Linked DNA regions of Homo sapiens: all the other regions are linked to region 4. Evidence: promoter capture Hi-C in human tissues and cell types (Jung and others, 2019). All regions are on one chromosome and are shown on one strand. Each heading gives the region's core, a stretch centred on a gene start or on the middle of the fragment in contact. The rest is flanking DNA. Distances are from core to core; before and after follow the strand shown.

What was found. Contacts are between HindIII fragments. The study calls those that stand out against the background at their distance.
Region 1: a contact is called between a fragment that was not itself captured here and the fragment with the promoter of ANXA7 in region 4, in 2 of the 25 tissues and cell types used here (IMR-90 fibroblasts and dorsolateral prefrontal cortex).
Region 2: a fragment that was not itself captured here is called in contact with the fragment with the promoter of ANXA7 in region 4 in 1 of the 25 tissues and cell types used here (hippocampus).
Region 3: a fragment that was not itself captured here is called in contact with the fragment with the promoter of ANXA7 in region 4 in 1 of the 25 tissues and cell types used here (dorsolateral prefrontal cortex).
Region 5: a fragment that was not itself captured here is called in contact with the fragment with the promoter of ANXA7 in region 4 in 2 of the 25 tissues and cell types used here (hippocampus and mesendoderm cells).

Annotation. Positions count from the first base shown.
Region 1 is chr10:73,620,672-73,623,621 of GRCh38, forward strand. It overlaps a transcript of USP54 not described here. Among named protein-coding and RNA genes, the nearest start is that of MYOZ1, 19 kb to the right of the region's middle. The HindIII fragment of the contact is 4,845 bases long and covers 1-2,950 here.
Region 2 is chr10:73,232,475-73,235,638 of GRCh38, forward strand. FAM149B1 (family with sequence similarity 149 member B1) reads left to right here. Exons shown (of 14, transcript NM_173348.2): 10 at 465-689; 11 at 2,343-2,466; 12 at 2,719-2,844. It also overlaps a transcript of DNAJC9 not described here. Among named protein-coding and RNA genes, the nearest start is that of DNAJC9, 13 kb to the right of the region's middle. The HindIII fragment of the contact is 5,885 bases long and covers 1-3,164 here.
Region 3 is chr10:73,593,091-73,596,250 of GRCh38, forward strand. It overlaps a transcript of USP54 not described here. Among named protein-coding and RNA genes, the nearest start is that of USP54, 3.3 kb to the left of the region's middle. The HindIII fragment of the contact is 7,322 bases long and covers 1-3,160 here.
Region 4 is chr10:73,412,777-73,416,066 of GRCh38, forward strand. ANXA7 (annexin A7) reads right to left here and starts at 1,282. Exons shown (of 13, transcript NM_001156.5): 1 at 1,236-1,282. RefSeq lists enhancers at 296-415, 426-505 and a silencer at 906-1,465. The HindIII fragment of the contact is 7,160 bases long and covers 1-3,210 here.
Region 5 is chr10:73,572,082-73,575,031 of GRCh38, forward strand. All of the region lies in intron 3 of USP54 (ubiquitin specific peptidase 54), which reads right to left. Among named protein-coding and RNA genes, the nearest start is that of USP54, 18 kb to the right of the region's middle. The HindIII fragment of the contact is 3,296 bases long and covers 1-2,950 here.

The DNA.
Region 1 (2,950 bases), core at 229-2,728, 210 kb after region 4:
TCACGCCTGTAATCCCAGCACTTTGGGAGGCCAAAGCGGGTCAATCATCTGAGGTCAGGACTTCAAGACCAGCCTGCCCAACATGGTGAAACCCTGTCTCTACCAAAAATACAAAAAATTATCTGGGTGTGGTGGCGGGCACCTGTAATCCCAGCTACTCCGGAGGCTGAGGCCAAGAGCAAAACTCTGTCTCAAACAAACAGGTCGGATGCGGTGGCTCACCACTGTAATCCCAGCACTTTGGGAGGCTGAGGCGGGTGGATCGCCCAAGGTCAGGAGTTGGAGACCACCCTGGCCAACATGGCGAAACCCCGTCTCTACTAAAAATACAAAAATTAGCTGAGCTCGGTGGCACGTGCCTGTAATCCCAGCTACTCAGGAGGCTGAGGCAGGAGAATCGCTTGAACCTGGTAAGCAGAGGTTGCAATGAGCCAAGATTGTGCCACTGCACTCCGGCCTGGGTGACAGAGCAAGACTCTGTCTCAAAAAACAAACAAATAATACAAAGATGTAAAATTTGAATTTCAACCAGAAAACCGTACTTTGGACTTTGGAATATAGAGTGAAAAAAAAAACCTGAAAGCAAATATATAAAAACATGTGACACATACATACATTTTTCTCAATATAAAAAAACTACAGTATGAAGGCGGGGCACAGTGGCTCACGCCTGTAATCCCAGCACGTTGGGAGGCCGAGACGGGAAGATCACAAGGTCAGGAGATCAAGACCATCCTGGCTAATATAATGAAACCCTGTCTCTACTAAAAATACAAAAAATAGCCGGGCATGGTGGCGGGCACCTGTAATCCCAGCTACTCAGGAGGCTGAGGCAGAAGAATGGCATGAACCCAGGAGGCGGAGCTTGCAGTGAGCCAAGATTGCGCCACTGTACTCCAGCCTGGGCGACACAGGGACACTCCGTCTCAAAAAAAAAAAAAAAAAAAACTACTGTATGAAAATATGTTTGACTAAATGCCTTAAAGTCTGTTGTAATAACATTTCCCCTATATATGAATACAGATAACCATTTCCACTACTAAAATGATCACTTGCTGGAAGCTTACAAATATATAATTGCTTGCTACAACTATTTTCCCAAGCATAGCTCCCTATACAATTATACACAGCAGAAATTTGGTAATTTACTCAATTCTCTATATAACAATACAAATTTTGTATTTAGCACCATGCTAACATTCACATTAGTTCCCCATAGGTAGTGTAAATATCTGAGGGAGAAAATGTATGAGTAAAAAAACAGATACCCCTATCCATTTATACCTTCCAAGTCCCACCCAGAATTCTGGTGTCCTGGCCAGTTCCACCTGCAACCTCTCCCCACTTCCTCCATACCAAGACTCCCTCCTTCCCTACAAAAGAAAGAAATCTTTCTTAGTATATTAGAATCACATAAATTTCCCACACCAATCTCTATTCTACCATCTACTAGCTCAATAATCTTTGGTAACTTCCTGAACTTTTTAAGCCTTGGTTTTCTTTAAAGTAACTAGTACCAGCTGCAGAGCAGAGTGTTGTTATAAGATAAAATGAGATAATGTGCCTGGCACATTAATAATCACTCAATGAATGTTATCTATTATTATTATTGCCTTAAGACTGTTGTAATATTTATTTATTTATTTATTTATTTATTTATTTATTTATTTTGAGACAGAATCTTGCCTGTTGCCTAGGTTGGAGTATAGTGGCATGATTTCGGTTCACTGTAACCTCCGCTTCCTGGGTTCAAGCGATTCTCCTGCCTCAGCCTCCCGAGTGGCTGGAATTACTGGCAGGCATCACCATGCCCAGCTAATTTTTGTATTTTTAGTAGAGATGGGGTTTCACCATGTTGGCCAGGCTGATCTCAAACTCCTGACCTCAACTGATCCGCCCACCTCAGCCTCCCAAAGTGCTGTGATGACAGGCCTGAGCTACCGTGCCTGGTCCGTATTTATTTACATCTACAGTAAAGGAGTACTAAAAAAGACTAATAGGACCAGCGAGGTGGCTCACGCCTATAATCCCAGCATTTTGGGAGGCTGAGGTGGGAGGATCACTTGAGCCCAGGTGCTTGAGATCAGCATGGGCAACATAGGGAGATCCTGTCTCTAGAAAAAGTACAAAAATTAGCCAAGCACCTGTAGTCCCAGCTCCTGGAGAGGCTGAAAAGCAAGAGGATTCCTTAAACCCAGGAGACTGAGGCTGCAGTGAGCCGTGATTACTCCACTGCACTCCAGCCTGGGCAACAGACAACTCGTCTTTAAAGAAAAAAAAAAAAAAGGGCTTAAATTATGAACTGACCAGTGAATTTTCTCCTCAAACTTCCATTCTTTTATCTCTTCTGAGAAACTTACTATGTGTTTCACTAAGGCAGCACAGTTTAGTTTGGTTAACACTTTGTAATTTTGAAAACTCTTAGGCTGGGCATGGTGGCTCAAGCCTGTAATCCCAGCGCTTTGGGAAGCCAAGCTGCCAAGGCAGGAGGATTGCTGGGTAACATAGCCAGACCAGCTTAGGCAACATAGCAAGACCTCGTCTCTACAAAAAAAATTTTAATAATTAACTGCGCGTGGTTGCATGCACCTGTGGTCCTATCTACTCAGGAGGCTGAGGTGGGAGGAAAGCTTGGGCCCAGGAGGTTGAGGTGGCAGTGAGCTGTGATGACACCACTGCATTCCAGCCTGGGCAACAGAGCAAAACCCTGTCTCAAAAAAAGAGAAAAGAAAATTCTTACTTTGGGAGGCTGAGGCAGGAGTATCACTTGAGCCCAGGAGTTTGAGACCAGCCTGGCAACATAGCAAGACCCCATCTCTAAAAATAAATCAGCTGGGCATGGTGGCCCTCACCTGTAGTCTCAGCTCTGTTCAGGAGACAGAGGTACAAGGATGGCTGGAGCCCAGGAGGTTGAAGTTGCAGTGAGCCATGATCTTGCCACTGCACTCCA
Region 2 (3,164 bases), core at 30-2,529, 180 kb before region 4:
GGAGCCACACTGGTGCCACAACTGCTCCCAAGCAGCAATATTTGTCTTTCAGTTGTCTTTCTGGTGACAATCTTTCAGCACAAAAGAATGCCTCAAACAGAGTAGGAATCAGCCCCTGTGGCAAATTTTTGGGAAGCACTTTGGAGTAGGTGTCCTTCAGGCTTGCCTTCACTGGTGACTAAAAAAGTGACTGTGATGGCAGGTGGATAATGGACTTGCTTTGCCAAATGTCCATTCTAGTAAATTATGTTTATGATTGAAATAATGTCCCACTTTTAAGAACAGATTCTCATGCCTGAGCTAGAGTACCATCTGGAAACTAGTGTTACTTATTGAAAGGTTTTTATTTTTGCTTTATTTCCCCCTAAATGTAGTTTCTAGTCTAAGGCTTTTTACCCCGTTAGTCTTGTCTTCCTTGACATACTGATCTTTACTTCATTGTGGGTTTCTGATTTGGCTACTAGAGATCTTGATGACAAGCTACTTATGAGGCCTGGGTCCAGTACCATCCTTTCAACTCGAAATTGGCCAAATCGAGCTGTGGAGTTTAGTACATCATCTCTGTCATACACAGTGCAGTCCACCAGGAGACGCAATCCACCACCACGAACTCTTCATCCGATCAGCACGAGCCATTCATGTGCTGAAACACCAAGATCTGTGGAAGAAATCCTCAGAGGAGCCCGAGTGTAGGTTTCAAAAGCAGAACTTCTGGAAACCGTGGTAAAACTAACACATTTTACATACAGAATTAATTTAAATATAAGACTGAAATCTATGCCTAGAAACTAATCATTAAGTAGTCTTATGACAGATTGCCCATGGGTTTAGATCCAACACAAAATTTTTTAATGTGGTTAAATTTTATTTTATTTTATTTTTTTAGATACAGTCTCACTCCTGTCGCCCAGGCTGGAGTGCAGTGGATGATCATGGCTCACTGCAGCCTCAACTTCTGGGCTCAAGTGGTTCTCCCACCCCAGCCTCTCAAGTAGCCGGGACCACAGGCGGGTGGTGCCACCATGCCAGGTTAACTTTTTGTGTTTTTAGTAGAGACAGGGGTCTTGTCATGTTGCCCAGGCTGGTTTCAAATTCCTGAGCTCAAGCAATCTGCCTGCCTCAGTCTCCTAAAGTGCTGAGATTACAGGTGTGAACCACCGCACCCAGCAGGGGTTAAATAATTTTAATGAAATAGATATTGAATCTTTCTGTTGATCTAGCTAAAGAGTTCTATTTGTAAAAATAAAATGTTGGCTAGAATACTATATTGGGGTTACAAAAGGAATAAAGAACCTATTTATTTAATCAAACATTTTCCGTGCTGGGAACATATTCAGTGAAATTCACTCCAAAATAATAGTTAATTCCCCTTTAAGGTTCTTCTGTACCATTGGGATCTGCTTATTCCATTGACAATGAAAACTTCATAAACCTCAGATAAGTAGTTGCTTACATACCAGCAAAAATATCCCTTAGCACTTCCTAGGAAGTGACACTAAAAGTAATCGCCTTTCCCACCCTTCATTCACTACACACTCTGAGCCTCATCATGCAAAAATACCTAGGAGCCAATTTTAAACATAGAATTCTTTTAGCTGTTGATTCACAAAATGTCTTAGGATGATTAATTTCTAAAAATATCCTCAAAGGTATGAGATAATAAGGCCACAGCAGTGTTTTCAATGCGGCTTCCAAGTTAAGCATTATTATGTGGATGTAGCTATATCTATACCAACAGAGCTATAAATGCATTCATTTGGGGATGAGTAGTCTTGATGTATAATTAATCTCTCATTCCTTCTGACAGTACTTTTTTTCAAAGTTGAAAAGTAAGTTGCTTTGTTACTTCTGGGACATGAAAGTATCATTCAGTTTCAATTACTGTCTTAAGGATAAGGAATACTGCAAGCTGCTCCAGATCCTACTGAAGGGAATGAAGGTTTAGGAACTTTACCCGAGAACTATAGTTATTAGGGAAAACGATAACCAGAAGGTCCAGAACTGTCAAGAATTCCATCATCAGCTGGGAATTTACAAATCCAAATCAGCAGAGAAGTGCAATACCAGATAGGGACAAATGTTTTATTCCAGTTCTGTGGGAGAGAAAAGGCCAGCTTCTGTTGTGTACCCAGAGTATAGAGCTTCAAAACAAAATCAGAAAACACTATTTTAAAAACTAATTTTCCAAAAATCCTGAGATCTCTACTTGAAAACATAGGTAGCCTAAAGCTTTCTGTGCACATTAAACTCATCTGCTTCATTTATCTGATTTCTAATCAATTTGCTGGTATTGTTATAACTTCATGCTTTCATACCTTCGTGTTTGTTGGTGGGATCTGCAGCCCAGTGGCACCCGACTCGCTCTCCTCTCCCTCACCGACGCCCCTGAGTCGAAATAATCTGCTACCACCTATTGGCACAGCTGAAGTGGAACATGTGAGCACTGTGGGGCCACAAAGACAGATGGTATGTTTCTTTCATATTGCCTCTCCATGTACTTACCATACAACCTAATGGGCAGTAATTCTGCAGGATCTGTGCCCTGATCTTGATTTATACTGTGTTTTGTCAAAAGTACAAACACAGTGCTAATTTATGACGTGGAATTGGAGCTGTTTGGCCTGCACTTACCATATCTGCCATGGTCGATAGGGTTTTAACTACATACCACATTACAGATAGTTTTCACTGTTTCTGTAACTTTTGTCTCCTCTGCAGAAACCCCATGGCGACTCTAGTCGAGCTCAAAGTGCGGTGGTGGATGAACCTAACTATCAGCAGCCACAAGAAAGGCTCCTTTTGCCCGACTTTTTCCCCAGGCCCAACACAACTCAATCATTTTTGGTAGAGTGACGTACTTCCTAGAATGGTCTTGATAGTTGGGGAAAGAAAAGGTGGGGGGAATAATAGTTTGGCAGACTTAAGATTTTATCTAGAGGCTTAACCCAGAATAAAAGTTGAGTTTCCAACAATAAAAAGTGTTATAAATACATTTTGTTCAAATTCTAACTAGTCCCTGATGCCTATTCTTTAATGCCTTATACAGAAATCACAAATATTCTAAGCAATTTAACACTTAAGATATGTCTGACCACAAGCAAGAATATTAAATCCCAGTACACATCAGATAAGCATAACTTTATTATGTAATCCTGTTCTTCTGG
Region 3 (3,160 bases), core at 50-2,549, 180 kb after region 4:
GCTCACGCCTGTAATCCCAGCATTTTGGGAGGCCATTGCGGGAGGATCATTTGAGCCCAGGAGTTCAAGACCAGCCTGGGCAACACAGGGAGGCCCCTTCTCTACAAAAAAAAAAAAGAAAGAAAGAAAGTTTTTAATTAGCCTGGTGTGGTGGCACGCACCTCTCTGGTCCCAGTTACTCCAGGCTGAGGTGGGAGGATCCCTTGAGCCCAGGAGGTCAAGGCCCCAGTGAGCAGTGATTGTGTCGCTGCACTCCAGTCTGGGCCACAGAGCAAGACCCTGTCTCAAAAAAAAAAAAAAAAAAGGAAAAATAAAAATAGAAAGAAAAGGTTTTGGGTACATGATTGCTAACTACGTCAAGAGGGAGAGTGATACATAGTGTTTCAGATTATTATTTTTTAAAATAGGGTTTTAGTTTAAATGTTCAGGTATTCTAAAGTTGGATGACTAGTTACAACAGTACTTTGTAAAACTGTGCTTCAACAAAACTTAACAAGTCATATTTTTCAAGTACTTTGCAGGGAATATGTAACACCACAATAGGTCCACCTTAGACCAGAATAGACAAAGGTCTCTGAAAAAATATAAATATTATTAGCAAGGAGAAACAATATTTAGGATTTGAGTAAATCAATCAAGAAAAATCCTTGGAGGGTAGTGGGGAGGGTAATGGAAAAGCACAGGCTGAAAAGTCCTATTTGGTCACATTCCGTAGCTTTTCATTATTGGTTTCTACTAGCAAATAGAGTAAGGTACAACAGAATGTTCAATGCATTGAAAGAACATTTTGCTTCTCTTAAAAGTCATAAAAGAGAAACAGAGGATTTCTCTAAGAAAAACCAAAATAACTCCCTCTGGAGTAACCCCAAAGTCAAACCATCATTGTCTTTTATTTCTGAGATGCTAATGATAATGCTGATGTCGGCAGTAAAGGCAGGAACTGAGTGGCTCCGCAGTAGGAACACGAGATTGGAAAATAAAAGACTCTTTTTTTTTTTGAGTCCAAGTCTTGCTCTGTCACCCAGGCTGGAGTGCAGTGACACGATCTCGGTTCACTGCAACCTCCACTTCCCAGGTTCAAGTGATTCTCCTGCTTCAGCCTCTTCAGTAGCTGGGATTACAGGTAGGTGCCACTACACCCAGCTAGTTTTTGTATTTTTAGTAGAGATGGGGCTTCACCATGTTGGCCAGACTGGTCTCGAACTCCTGACCTCAAGTGATCCACCTGACTCAGCCTCTCAAAGTGCTGGGATTACAGGTGTGAGCCACTGTGCCCAGCCAATAAAAGACTCTAGATTTTAGAATGTAGTGACAAAATTTGGGAACTTTTTAAGAGACAGGTTCTTCCTCTGTTGCCCAGGCTGGATGCAGTGGTGTGATCACAGCTCACTGAACCCTCAAATTCCTGGGTTCATGCAATCTTCTACCCTCAGCCTCCCGAGTAGCTGGGACTACAGGTGTGTACAACCAGACCCAGCTAATTTTTTAAAGATTTTTGGAGACAGGGTCTTAGTATGTTACCTAGGCTGAGACTTTTAAATAAACTGGAGGATTGGGGTGGGGAGGGGTGGGGAAGAGACTGCTTTATATCAAATGAAAGCCTTTATCATTTGATCCTGGGGAGAGGGGAAGCTTAATTCAGAGCTGTTAAACTGGAGTTCTAGCAAACAAAAATTAGAGACGGACTTGATCTTAGCTAATAAGGAACCTAAGAGAAAATATTCTAGCCTTTGACTCTAGGTTGTAAGGAAGAATATACCATGAAGTAGATGAAAAACAGGGAAAACTACATAACTAATTTGAGTCTAGTGGGTTTTTTTTTAACTTTTTTTTTTTAATCTTGGTTTTGTTTGAAGACAGAGTCTCACTCTGTCACCCAGGCTGGAGTATAGTGCCATAATCTCAGCTCACTGCAATCTCTGCCTCCCGGGTTCAAGTGATTCTCCTACCTCAGCCTCCAGAGTAGCTGGGATTACAGGTGCACACCACCACACCTGGCTAATTTTTGTATTTTGAGTAGAGATGGAGTTTCACCATGTTGGCGAGGCTGGTCTCAAACTCCTGACCTCAGGTGATCCACCCACCTCAGCCTCCCAAAGTGCTGGGATTACAGGCGTGAGCCACCAAGCCCCACTGGTGTTTTCTTTTAAAGACAGAGTCTCACTATGTTGCCCAGGCTGGAGTGCAGTGGCTAGTCACAGGTGCAATCCCTGTGCAATCAGAGGTGACTCTAGTTTTTATTCTGAGATTTATTCACAATGTTGGCAGAGCATGTGTACCTTAAAGAGCTGGTTGTTTCACTCAAGTATGCATTACTGAGAAGAGGAATATTGCAGAAAGGGTAGAGGGAAGAGAAAAAAACTGATCCAAAGAATACATTTTGGAGAAACTTTGGCTGTTAATCACAGACCTGAGCAGCAAAATCATACAAGAAATCTCTATATTTCTCATATAAATGGACTCTAAAGAAGAGAGGGAGATAGGGGCCACACATTTGGGCTTCTAATTATAGCATCATTATTGTTTAAATTCATTTATTTAACTATATCTTGCATAATTCTAAAAAGTATATCAAATAGCATTATGTCATTATGAACATTAACCACCCTGTCTATAGAACAAGGGTTTTTAAAAGTCTTGGACTGGACTTAAAGCTCCTAGAAAGCAAGAAGAGTATGAAAATCCCTCTCAAGCACACCAAAGAATTACCTAAATGCTAGTCTTACAGAAAGTAATCAGCCGGGCGCGGTGGCTCACGCCTGTAATCCCAACACTTTGAGAGGCCAAGGCAGGCGGATCTCTTGAGGTTAGGATTTTGAGACCAGCCTGGCCAACATGGTGAAAAACCCGTCTTGACTAAAAATACAACAATTAGCTGGGCATGGTGGCGTGTGCCTGTAATCCCAGCTACTCAGGAGGTTGAGGCAGGAGAATCGCTTGAACCCAGGAGGCGGAGGTTGCAGTGAGCTGAGATGGTGCCACCGCACTCCAGCCTGGGCAACAGAGCCAAGACTCCATCTCAAAAAAAAAAAACAAAACAAAAAAAACAGGCCGGGTGCAGTGGCTCACGCCTATAATCCCATCACTTTGGGAGGCCAAGGTGGACAGATCATTTGAGGTCAGGAGTTCAAGACCAGCCTGACCAACATGGTGAAACCCC
Region 4 (3,290 bases), core at 32-2,531:
TGAGCCACCGCGCTCGGGCTTTTTTTTTTTTTTTTTTAAACATTCTCTGTTAGCAATCACTTTTAAAAGACTAGAAAATCATTTTTGGTTTTCCAAACCACCTCCACCCAGTGAGTCAGTTAGTAAAAGGGCTGGGTCTCACCGTTTCTCATTGATGGCATGAAGCCCAGGAACCCAAGAGGCAGCTGTTGCAAATTTATGGGGGAAAAAATACACGAAACAGGAAGGGTGACTGAAGATACGCGCAACAGCGAATACAATTTTGCAAAACCGGCTTCTAGGTATGGTAGGATCATTTAAATCCGTCAGTGATGTGGAGAAAGAACATGGAGGCATGGCTAGTCCTCTGCACGGACAGGTAGGTAGCCAACCACCAGTGAGGACTGAAAGACAGTCCTCACTGAAAAGGACTGAAAGTTTGCAGTGGCCAAAATTATCTCTTTTACCTATTCAGTGCTTGAAACTCTTTCCTTGCCTGGAAGGTAACTCATTACACTCATCATCTAATTCGGACACATTTAGCAGATTAGCTGGCCATCAGCTGGCAAAAATCAGGGCGTTTACGGCAGTCGGAAGACAACAGCGTCATGTCTGTCACTTTACGGTGGACATCAGCCATCTACCTCTGCACCTTGGTTTCCTTGCGCAGTGTTTGCACAGGATGAGCTAATTTCAACACAGATTTGCTGCTGGTCGGGGAACAGCAATCAAATCTGGAATGCTATTCTAGAATAGCTTCCAAGAACTGTAAACGAGAACCAGTGTACGACCTTGGCCTGGCGCATTCTGTCCTACGGTTCACTAAACACAGTAAAAATTTCCCCAAGTTTCCCTAAATTCGCTGTGTCACCGGAAAGTACAGCCACTACCAGCCAGACGGCTTTCAGCACTGCCCGTGCGTTTCCCTACTCAGCCTCCCGCGAGGCAGCTGGGCCACGCTCCGGCCTCAGCCCCTCCACCTGCCCGAGGGCGGGGCGCCACTGGTCCCTGGGATTTCCAAACGGACGGAAGGGCTTCCCGTAAGCCAGGCCGGCCGCCTCACCCACGCCACCCCAACACACCCCGGCCGGCAGCCCGGCTACGAGACGCGCAAACCGAGTCGCCGCCATCCGGGAGGCCCACACTGCCCTCCAGCCGCGCCCCACTAGCACCGGGACAGCAGCGCCCAGAGCTGGCCGAGGGCAAGACCACCGAGGCAGACGAGGTGGGAAAGGGAGGGGGGCGCCGCTCCTCACCTGACCCCAGCAGCAGCGTCACAGCCCAACCCGGTCTCCCGCAAGATGGAGCCGGGGGCGGGCCCAGGGTGGGCGGGGCGTCTCGCGAGCCCGTTAGGATCGCGGCTGCAGCCGGGAACACCCCCGGAGCCGGAGAGGGCGCTGCGGGGAGCGGGCTGTCCCTCAGTCCCGCCCCTAGGCGCCACCTGAGGGAAAAAGACTCTCCCTTCGGGTGGCCCAGCGGATTTTTAATCACATTTATCTGTCGCAAGGACCCTGCACCAATCCCTTTTAAGGCTGCCTCAAGTCACCTAGGAAGTTGCAGCAGTCCTGGGGGTATCCGGGGCCCCTTCAGTGGCGGGCGGTAGAGAAGGGCTGAGACTGGGAGGCTGGTGCAGCCTCCCCGCCTCTGAAATACCGTCCTCCAGGTATTTTCTGGGGACAAAGACGGCGTTTTTTGTTAGCCTCCTGTGAAAGTAATATTTGTGGGAAATCTTAGTTGGAACTGTAGATGAACTAATCAAAATCACTCCCGAAAGGAGTTGTTAGGTGATTTTAGGCTCCCCTCGTGGCTACAGCATTGAACACACATTAGCATTAAACATTTGAGGCAATTACGAGGGCTCAGATCAATATTTTAAACTCGTTAAGGAATTTATATTACAGAGAAAACCAATCAGCTACCTTTTAGAGTGGTAAAAGGTAGCTTCTGGGTGTGGTCCCCCGAACAGCAGCATCACCTGGAAACGTGTTAGTAACGCAGATTATTGAACTCCACCTTAGACCTACTGAATCAAACTCCCCGGGTGGTGCCCAGCAACCTGTTTTAACAAGCCTTCCAGGTGGTTCTGATGCACACTAAAGTTTGCACATCTGATGCACATCAACTTACTTATTCCTCTACACACTTTTCTACCCAAAAGCTTCCTCATGGGGGTGGAATAGAGTGGATTACGATTTTAAATGGGAAGAGCAAGCAAAATATACGTGGCTTCCAAATAGGTGTGTGGAGTGAAAAGTATTTGAGGCAGGTCATTGCCTCATTTAACAATGGTAGACAAAATGCACAACTCTCTAGGTGACCAGCATTAATTCCCCGGCGCCCAACAGTCTGTCTACCTGGAAAATAACAGGACTTTCTGTCCTACCTACCCCAGAGACCTCCAGGATTTAAGCCTTCCCTGAGAAGCCTACTCTGTTCATTCTAGAGTTCCCTTTGTGAGCTCGTTCCAAACCCTCCCTCTGCCTTAAATACCACCATAACAGGGTATTTGCCAAACCTCTTATTTCCAGCCCACTTTCCTGAGCTGCAGGAATAGTCCAATAGTCTACTACGACATTTGCCATTTCATCCTTTCAATTCATCCTTTCTTCCTGGCATAAAAGGCGTTACAGGATCGGAGACCCTTTCCTCCTGCTACCTCTGCTTAGAAAGCACTGCTCATCTTTTAACAATTACTCATCTTAATTAGACTTGTTTTCAAGGTTGCTCATCTCCGTCTTGCTCCAATAAACTCTTCCTGATCTTCTTTTTTGTACTCAACTGGACCATTTTAATTTTTTAATTTTTTTGGAGACAGAGTCTTGCTCTGTCACCCAGGCTGGAGTGCTGTGGTGCGATCTAGGCTCACTGCAACCTCTGCCTCCGGGGTTCAAGCGATTCTCATGCCTCAGCCTCCCGTGTAGCTGGGAGGCATGTCACCACGCCCAGCTAATTTTTTTGTATTTTTAGTACAGATGGGGTTTCGCCATGTTGGCCAGGCTGGTCTCGAACTCCTGGCCTCAAGCGATCCACCTGCCTCAGCCTCCCAAAGTGCTGGATGTATTACAGGCATGAGCCACCATACCTGGTCAACATCTCTGAAGGCCATGGTATGTTCCAGAGTTCATGTGAAATAAGAGCCATCATGCTTCTAATGTGAACATCCCACTGTATCAGAGTCTGGTTTTTTTTTGTTTGTTTTTGTAGTTTTGAGACAGGGTCTCATTCTGTTGCCCAGGCTGGAGTGCAATGGCACAATCTCAGCTCATTGCAACCTCTGCTTCCCAGGTTCAACGAATTCTCCTGCCTCAGCC
Region 5 (2,950 bases), core at 303-2,802, 160 kb after region 4:
GTTGAGAATGGCACTATACTTTTGTGGTCTTCCTCCCTAAAACCTATGACCCTAGTCTAATCATGAGAAAAGCATTAGACAAATTCCAATAGGGGAAGGGGGATATCCAAAAAAATACTTGATCAGTACTCCTCAAAACTGTCAAAGTTTATCAAAAACATAAACATTCTGAGAAAATGTCACAGCTAACAGGAGCCTAAGAAGACATGACAAGTAAATCTAAATGTGGTATCCTGGATGAAATCTTGGGCCAGGAAAGGACACCAGGTAAAAACTAAGGAAATCTGAATAAATTGCAATTTTTAGTTAAAAAAGAAATGATGTAGTATATAGCATAATGCCTTAGGAAGCTCCCCCTTGCTAGGAAAACATTTAATGTCATAATACATGAAAAAGCATAATTTCTGGAGCCCCAGATGACAGCACACCTCCGGAGCTTCTTCTTACTTATATGTCTCAAGATACACACTCTAAAAGTTCTTTGAAACTGGCTATGCTCCCAAGTAAATAACACCTTTTTATAACAAATGTAATAGGTTCAACTCATCTGTGGTAAACACAGCTTTGAAACCAAAAGTTAGAATATTAGCTCATAACAACAATTATTTTCAACATGTAACATGATTATTATAGGGACTCCAAAACCATCAATGCCTCAATCATTAAGTATGGATACAGAAATATGTATGTGTATATATATTATGTATTGTATATGGCACTGGAAATTAGAATGGGAAATCATAAATAGTATTGTTTCAACTGACAATATAAATAGACCACATAGAAAAAAACAATTACAAAAATGGGACTATGGCCAAGACACGGGTAAACAAACACATTTATATCAATGCCTTATTTTGCCTGCTTCTAAATCACAAAAGTATTATCAGGATACAAAGTAACTAAAAAAACTAATATGTGGCCAGGTGTGGTGGCTTATGCCTATAATCCCAGCACTTTGGGAGGACAACGCAGGATGATCATTTGAGCCCAGGAGTTCAAGACCAGCCTAAGCAATTATAGTGAGACCCTCTCTCCACAAACAATTAAAAAAAAAAATTAGCTGCGTGTGGTAGCATGTGTCTGTTGTCCTAGCTACCTAGGGAGGCTGAGGTGGGAGGACCGCTTGAGCCCAGGACGTTAAGGCTGCAGTGAGCTATGATTACACCAGTGTACTCTAGCCTTGGCAACAGAGTGAGACCTCTGGCTCCAAAAAAAAGAGAAAGAAATAAAGAAAGAAAACTAATATGCATCATCCAGGACAAAAACCTAACCAACTCCACCTAACTACATGAAATTTGGGTAATAATTAGGGAAAGCACTTAAATTTTTTCTATAGGCTTGCCAGCACATAATTTTTTTTTATTGTTTTCGAATAAAAACTTAAAAACTGAGAAAGAGGCTGGGCACAGTGGCTCACGCCTGTAAGCCCAGCACTTTGGGAGGCCGAGGTGGGCAGATTACCTGAGGTGAGGGGTTCAAGACCAGCCCAGCCAACATGGCGAAACCCCGTCTCTACTAAAAGTACAAAAATTAGCCCAGCGTGGTGGTGCACAGCCTGTAATCCCAGCTACTCAGGAGGCTAAGGCAGGAGAATCGCTTGAACCCAAGAGGCGGAGGTGGCAGTGAGCTGAGATCCCACCACTGCACTCCAGCCTGGGCGACAGAGTGAGACTCTGTCTGAAAAATAAATAAATAAAAACTGAGAAAGAGCATGAAACTTTTATTACCTAGATAAGCTTGGCAACATTCTTGTATTATGAATGAGGAAACTCAGACACTATTACCTGTACAAAGTCACAAGACTAGTCTACAGAATGGCTAAAACTACAACCCAGGTCTCCTCCTAATGCCCAGGACCATTGTTCTTTATACTAAATATCTTGTCTTCTCTCATAGCAACCCATTTTCTCATAACATCTGAGGAGTGAAGCTAATATTTTACCCAAGTATAATTATCTTGGGTGGCAAATTTCATTTACTTTTACACTGAAGAGCAGAAAAGAAGAGAAAGTAATTACTTGAAAGTTAGGCCAAGGGGGATGAACTTAACATGCTATGGGCGTGACTGGGCAGAGCAGACAGACAGAAAGCTTTGGGATTCTAAGATCACTCAAGTGGCAAGCAACAGTGAAAGGGAAAATGTAGGGTAGATAATCAACTTAAGGGAATTCACTTTCCCCTAGCTCTGTTCAAGTGTATCTGACTAGACACCAGTTATGAGCCAAAACAGGAGAGCTCAAAGAGAGGAGATAAGTTGGACAAAGACTAGACTCCATTCAATATGTGGGCCAAAAGCCTGAATATTAAGAGACGAGATTAACATACCTGAAAGTCTTTGACTTGTGGAAAGAATTTTGCTTCTATACTAGAGAAAAGCAACTAGGATAACACACCTTACTCCCGAAAGGAGAAACAGAAAACAGGCCAGACACCTGTAATCCCAGCACCTTGGGAGGCTGAGGCAGGCGGATCACTTGAGGCTAGGAGTTCAAGACCAGCCTGCCCAACATAGTAAAACCCTGTCTCCACTAAAAATACAAAAATTAGCCGGGTGTGGTGATGCACACCTATAATTCCACCTACTTGGGTGGCTGAGGCATGAGAATTGCTTGAACCCAAGAGGCAGAGGTTGCAGTGAGCCGAGATCGCTCATGGTCCCAGCTACTCAGGAGACTGAGGCAGTAGGATCACCTGAGCCCTGGAGGTCAAGGCTGCAGGAGCTGTGATTGGGCCACTATACTCCAGCCTGGGCAATAGAGTGAGACTGTCCAAAAAAAAAAAAAAGAAAGAAAAGAAAAGAAAAGAAAAATAGGAACCTGTAGAGACTGTTCAGGAAAAAAAGTTGATAAATAGAAAGATAGGCCAGGCACGGTGGTTCATGCCTGTAATCCCAGCACTTTGGGAGGCCAAGGCAGGTGGATCACAAGGTCAGGAGTTCGAGACCAGC